2 separate regions of the Homo sapiens genome follow, and region 2 is linked to region 1. Evidence: promoter capture Hi-C in 16 types of primary human blood cells and fetal thymus (Javierre and others, 2016). All regions are on one chromosome and are shown on one strand. Each heading gives the region's core, a stretch centred on a gene start or on the middle of the fragment in contact. The rest is flanking DNA. Distances are from core to core; before and after follow the strand shown. Region 1 holds the start of ATP1A3 (ATPase Na+/K+ transporting subunit alpha 3). Region 2 has its middle 23 kb from the start of LYPD4.

What was found. Contacts are between HindIII fragments. The CHiCAGO score rates a contact against its expected background, and 5 or more counts as called.
Region 2: a fragment that was not itself captured here is called in contact with the fragment with the promoter of ATP1A3 in region 1 in 2 of 17 cell types (non-activated CD4 T cells and activated CD4 T cells); the score reaches 5.7 in non-activated CD4 T cells.

The regions. Positions count from the first base shown.
Region 1 is chr19:41,992,548-41,995,984 of GRCh38, reverse strand. ATP1A3 (ATPase Na+/K+ transporting subunit alpha 3) reads left to right here and starts at 1,755. Exons shown (of 23, transcript NM_152296.5): 1 at 1,755-1,914. The coding sequence starts at 1,909. RefSeq lists a silencer at 1,582-2,021. The HindIII fragment of the contact is 18,418 bases long and covers 1-3,437 here.
Region 2 is chr19:41,819,791-41,823,227 of GRCh38, reverse strand. No RefSeq gene overlaps it. Among named protein-coding and RNA genes, the nearest start is that of LYPD4, 23 kb to the left of the region's middle. The HindIII fragment of the contact is 5,205 bases long and covers 1-3,437 here.

The DNA.
Region 1 (3,437 bases), core at 506-3,005:
AATCTCTGTGTTTCTGTGCCTCTCTCTGGCCTTCAGCCTTTCACACATTTCCCTGCACCAGGTCCTCGACCTTCACCCACCCACCCTCATACACCAAGCTCACTCCCTGTCCCTTGCCTGCGTCCCCCACATCTCCTATCCCATAGGTGGAGAGGATACCCACATTCTGAGAAAACTACAAGGTCAAATGCTCTCTGTCTCTCTCTCTCTCTCTTCCCCTTCTACCATCCCCAGGGAGAGTCTGGGGTGTTCCTCATAGAACAAAGTGGTGTTGGAGTGAGTGGGGAGGCCTCAACTTCTTGGGCTCCAGTGGGGTGGCTGATGGGGTGTTGTGTGTCGGCAGCAGGCCTGGGGTGTGGGTGCCGGCTGTGCATCTGTGTGTGTACATATACTGTGACGAGCTCTGTGTGTCATGTGGGTGAGGGCGTTGGGGTGTGTTTGGAGGTGCAACAAAGATGTCTGCGATAGTGCTGCAATAACGTGATGTGTGTATGTGTGGGAGGTGTGTGGGTGTCGCGTGACTTGTGTTTGAATTATTGTGCTATGTGTAAGTGTGTGCACCTTTTTGTCTGTCATTCACAGTTAGCATTGGCAACTTTGCACTGTGGGCCGTTGCTCATGCCCAAACACACTGGGGAGCAGTGTGTGTGAGGATGTGTGCGACATCGTGGGATCATGCAACGATGTCCACAAAGGCTGATGTAGTGTGTCTGGAGGCAGTGTGAGGCCTGTGCGTGTGTGATGGTGCTGAGTGCAGGTGTGTGTTGGTTTATGGGTTGCACGATGTGGGTTTCTATGTGAGATGGTGGGAGGTCAGGTGTGGTAGAGTGTGTGATGTGTGAGTCTGCGATTTTCTGAGTGTCGGTGTTAGTCCGCACAGCACTTTGTGGCTGTGATTATGAGTCTCTTGTGGTGTGATGGGTGTGTAAGGTGTGTGCCCTATGTGTGTTTCACTCTATGTTTGAGACTCTGTGTGTGGTGGGGTGGTGTTGTGTGTGTGAGGGTACATGCTGGCCTATGGTGGAATATGAGTGCAACCCTGTGGTGTGTGCGTGTCCCCAGCATCTGGGCTATCAGTGTGATGGTCCTGTGTAACTGTGACGCTGGGCATTTTCTGGGCCTCCTGGGGCCATCCTCCACCGTGTTGTGTCTCCCGTGTACCCTGTGTGGTTGTGGCTCATTGGATAGCTCAGGCGTAGTGGGGGGGCACCCACAGTGAGGGAATCTCAGGGCTCCTCCCGCCAGCACCCCTCCTCAATTGCAAGGCCTTTCTTGCTCTCTTGTGTTCCCTTCCAACTTCCCCTCCTGCAGGGCCCTCTCCCTGAACAGCACTACCCCCCGCCGTCTCCAGGGTCCCTGGTGCCACACTGCAGTGATTCACCGGGCTTCCCTCCCACCCCGTGTCACTACCCGCCCCCCCTCCCCCAGCGTACCCTTCTCGGTGATGGCACACCCCCACAATGAGAGGATTTCCGGGGTTTTCTTTCCCTGAGCGCCCCTTCTTGGAGGCCCTACTCCATATTGAGGGGGTCTCCAAGTCCCCTATTGCGGAGGTCTCTGGGAATCCCCCCACCCCCGCAGCGCTCCCCCTTCGCGGCCGCGCCGCCACTTTGCGGAGCCCAAGGGGAGGACAGCTGCAGTACCAGGGGCGGGGCCGCGGGCCGTCCGTCAGCACGGCGGCGCCCCTGATTGGCCAGCGCCGCCCCCCTCCCGCGGACGCGGGCATATGAGGAGGCGGAGGCGGCGGCCGCCGCAGCCTCTGTGCGGTGGGACCAACGGACGGACGGACGGACGCGCGCACCTACCGAGGCGCGGGCGCTGCAGAGGCTCCCAGCCCAAGCCTGAGCCTGAGCCCGCCCCGAGGTCCCCGCCCCGCCCGCCTGGCTCTCTCGCCGCGGAGCCGCCAAGATGGGGGTAGGTGCTGAGCCGGCTGGGCGCCGCTTCCGTGTGACATTGTGGGGCCGGTGACATTGGGTGTGCGCGGGGGGCGGGGGCACCGGGACCCCTGCGCTCCGGGGCCAGGCCTGCGAGACCCGGGGAGCCGGCTGACCCAGCCAATCCATGTGGTCGTGGGGCCGCAGGGGGCGGCGGGGGGTCTGTGGCGCACGTTGGCATGGCTTTGTGTGCGGAGATCCGCGAGGTTGTGGGCCAGCCCTCAGCATCTCCGCCTGACCTTGTGCGGTTGCATGTGCACAGTTGCATGTGCGTATGAGAGCTGCTGGCTCTGTCAGGCCCTGGCAGCGAGTGTGTGGGCCCCGTGGTGTCTGAAAGTCTGCGATCGCGTCTGGGTGTGTCTGTGAGAGCTCGTGTTAGTGCGTCTGGGGTTATTGAGGCCCCCCTGCTTCCCTGGCAGGGTGCGGATAGGTCCACGTTGTGGGATGGACACCAGATGACCTCTCTTTCTCCTTCCAGGCCTGGATGGGGGGACTCCGCAGTGTGTGTGTGTGTGTGTGTGTGTGTGTGTGTGTGTGTGTGTGTGTGTGCAGGCTCCGCAGTGTCGCAGCCTGGGGCTGCAGTGTGTGTGTGTGCAGCCCCTCATGTAGGGGAGCAGGCATGGGAGGCTGGGAGGAGGAGAGGAACAGGAGAGCCACGGTGGGGAGACTGAGTGCACAGCTGAGGGTGTGCGTGTGCAACTGTGTAGTGGGGAGCGTGCATGCCTGGCTGTGTCCTTGCCTCTGTGTCCGTGTGTCCTTGTCTGTCTGTGAGTCTCTCCAGCAGATGCCGCCTCCCTCCCTGGCTGACCACCTGACCCTTGCTGCAGCCCTGGATTCCTCCCTGTGTGTCTGGGGCGGGGCTGAAGGGAGGGGGAATCAGGAGAGGAGGGGGTGGGTGGGGGTAGGTGGGATGAAGAGGGCGGGAGAGGCCAGTGGAGGGAGAATAGGAGGGCTGGGGAGAAAGATGGCGGATAAAGGCTGATGGGCCCAGGGATGGAGGTGGGGGATGGGGCTGCAGATCTGTGGGGTGGGGCAGGGTGGGCCGGGGGGCTGGGAAGGAGGATTGGGTTGGGGCAGGACTAGGGGAGAGAAGGGAGAAAGGGGTAGTCAGTGATGGCTGTCAGGTAAGTGGGATGGAGGGAGGGAAGCTGTGGATGGATTGGGAGAAGACTGATGCTAAAAGCCCTAGAGAAGGAAGTTAGAGGGAGGTGGTCTTAGGAAACGGAGTGGGGACGAGAGGAGAAATGAAGGCAGCTTAGACATGGGAAGGAAAGACAGAGACACATGGAAAGACAGAGATGCTCTGAAAGAGACAGAGAAAGAGACATGGACATAGAGACAAAGAGACAGAGACAAGCAGAGAGACATGGCTGAGACACATGGAGAGACATTGAGAGAGAAAATGAGAAACTGAGGCTCAGAGGAAGAGACACAAGGACAGATATTTCCTATCTAGCGGCAACCACAGTCAGCCTGAGGGACAGGAAGAGGAGGCAGAGGGCA
Region 2 (3,437 bases), core at 621-3,120, 170 kb after region 1:
AAATTCAAAAAAGTAGGAATCTTATTAAGTATCTTTTCTTTTTTTAAAAGAGATAGGGTCTTACTCTGTTGCCCAGGCTGGAGTGCAGTGGTGAGATCATAGTTCACTGCAGCCTCCAACTCCTGGGCTCAAATGATCCTCCTCGCTCAGCCCCCCAGATAGCTGGGGTTACAGGAGTGCCCCACAATGCCCAGCTAATTTTTTTTTTTACTTTTGTGGAGATGGAATCTCACTATGTTGTTCAGGCTGGTCTTGAACTCCTGGCCTCAAGTGATCTTCCCATCTTGGCTTCCCAAAGTGTTGAGATTATAGGCGTGAGCCACCAGGCAGGGCGTAAGTATATTTTTCTTACCACAGGGGTATAAAACTAGAAATTAATAATGAGAGGAATCCCAGAAAACACACCAGCACATGGAAATTAAACAACATACTACTGAGCCACCAATGGGTAAATGAAGAAATTAATAAGGAAATAAAAAATTTCTCCAGCCTCAGCCTCCTAGGTAGCTGGGATTATAGGTGCACACCACCACACCCAGCACATTTTTGTGTTTTTAGTAGAAATGGGGTTTCACCATGTTGGCCAGGCTGGTCTCGAACTCCTGACATCAGGTAATCCACCTGCTTCGGCCTCCCAGAGTATTGGGAGCATTTTTCTTTTTTCTTTTTTTTGAGACAGAGTCTTGCTGTGTTGCCCAGGGTGGAGTACAGTGGCGCCATCTTGGCTCACTACAAACTCGGCCTCCCATGTTCAAGCAATTCTCTTGCCTCACCCTCTTGAGTAGCTGGGGTTACAGGCATGCACCACCGTGCCTGGCTAATTTTTGTATTTTAGTACAGATGGGATTGGCCAGGTTGGTCAGTGTAGTTTAACTCCTGGCCTCAAGTGATCCACCCACTGTGGCCTCCCAAAGTGCTGAAATTACAGGCGCGAGCCACTGCGAATGGCCTATATTTCTACTTCTGTGAAGAATGCCATTGAAATATTGCTAGAGACTGAGTTGAATTTGTAGTTCATCATGGTTAGTATGGACATTTTAACAATATTAATTCTTCCAGTCCATGAACACAGTACATTTTTTATTTTTTCAGAGACGGGGGTCTCACTATATTGAGCAGGTTGGTCTCAAACTCCTGGACTCAAGTGATCCTCTCACTTCATTCTCCTGAATAACTGAGACTATAGTCATGCAGCACTATGCCCGACACATTTTTTTTTTTTTTTTTGAGACGGAGTCTTGCTTTGTCGCCCAGGCTGGAGTGCAATGGCCCGATCTCGGCTCACTGCAAGCTCCGCCTCCCGGGTTCACGCCATTCTCCTGCCTCAGCCTCCCGAGTAGCTGGGACTACAGGCTCCCGCCACCACGCCCGGCTAATTTTTTGTATTTTTAGTAGAGACGGGGTTTCACCGTGTTATCCAGGATGGTCTCGATCTCCTGACCCCGTGATCCGTCCGCCTCGGCCTCCCAGAGTGCTGGGATTACAGGCATGAGCCACCGCGCCCGGCACATTTTTCATTTCATATTGTACTTCTCAGCTTCAAGGTTTCTGTTTGTTTCTTATTATTTTACTTTCGCTGTTACATTTCTCTGACAAACGTCTGAATTGTTTCTCTATGTTTTCTTTAAGTTCTCTGAGTTTTCTTAAAACAGCCGTTTTGAATTCTTTGCCTGCCAGACCATTCATTTGCATGTTTTTAGGATAATTCATTGGCATTTTGTTCTGTCTATTTGACGAGGCACGTTCCTAGGCTATTCTTATTCCTAGATCTGCGTCTCTATCTATGCATTGGTGAATTAGGTGTTTATTACGGTCTTTACAGCCTGAGTTTGTTTGTGACCATTCTATTTCAGTGGGCTTATTTAGAAATTGTGAGTGGACTGACTGTTGTCTTCCATTTCAACACTAGGGGGTACCCTAAGCCCAGGTTAGAGGCGAGTCTGGCACTAGCTTCACTGCTGATGAAATGTCGGACCTGGATGGGGCAGGTGGGAGAGCCACAGAGGGCACCTGGGCCCTGTGGAGAACCAGCCAGGCCCTCAAGGCCAGAGGATCTGTGGACCATGCTTCCTGCAGCATGGTTTCTGTAAACAGTGTCTTTGGTGCAGCATCTCCTCTGGCAGGGATGGAGAGCCACTGCCAAATTCCTTGCAGTGGCTGCCCAACCCCACCCCTTCTTTTTGTCTTTAACTGGCCTTAGGTACTTGCAGTGTTCTCTATGGGCCAATACAGGAGTGAGTCTTTTGTGGAGGGGCCCGGAATGATGGGGAATCTGTATGTCCACCCCTAGCTCAGTTTTTCCAGTGTAAAAATCATGGGTCCATGGGGAGTTTCCACGTGTGGTGCCATAATGGCTTGAGGGGAGGCATGTTGCAAGCACAGAGAACTGATCCCTTTACCTTCCAACCGTGGTTTTGCTTGTCTTTGTGGTCCAAGGGCGCTTCCCAGCTTCACTCGTGTGTTCGAGTTTTTTTTTTTTTTTTGGCTCTTGTGAAAGTAATTTTGTGTGTGGATAGTTGCTCAAATGGATGTTTCTGCTGGGAGATAATGGCTGGAGAGACTTACTCTGCTGTCTTTCTCATCTTCTGTCATTTAACATCATTCCTTAAAAATTTTTTTGTTTTTGAGATAGGGGTTGCTCTGTCACCCAGGCTGGAATGCAGTGGCACCATCTCCACTTACTGCAACCTCCTCCTTTCAGGTTCAGGTGATTCTCCTGCCTCAGCCTCCTGAGTAGCTGGGACTACAGGTGCAGGCCAGCACACTCGACTATTTTTTTTTTTTTTTTTGTATTTTTGGTAGAGATGGTGTTTCACCATGTTGGCCAGGCTGGTCTCGAACTCCTCACCTCAAGTTATCTGCCCAACTTGGCCGCTCAAAGTGCTGGGATTACAGGTGTGAGCCACCATGCCTGGTTGCACTTTCAATGGTGTAAGACTGAATGTTTTCCCTCTAATACTAAGAAAAGGGCAAGGGTGCCCACTCTCATCATCCTTATTCAATATACTACTGGAAGTTTCAGCACTGGAATAAGGCAAGAAAAGGAAATAAATACATATGGACTAGAAAGTAAGAAATAGGGCCAGGTGCGGTGGCTCACAGCTGTAATCCCAGCACTTTGGGAGGCTGAAGCGGGCAGATCACCTGAGGTCAGGAGTTCAAGACCAGCCTGGCCAACAAGGCGAAACCCTGTCTCTACTAAAAATACAAAAATTAGCCAGGCATGGTGGTGGGCGCCTGTAATCCCAGCTACTTGGGAGGCTGAGGCAGGAGAATTGCTTGAACCTGGGAGGTGGAGGTTGCAGTGAGCCAAGATCGTGCCATTGAACTTTAGCCTGGGTGACAAGAGCAAGACTGTGTCTCAAAAAAAAAAAAAAAAGAAAGAAAGTAAGAAATAGGCTGGGTGCAGTGGTGCATGCCTGGGTGCGGTCCCAGAT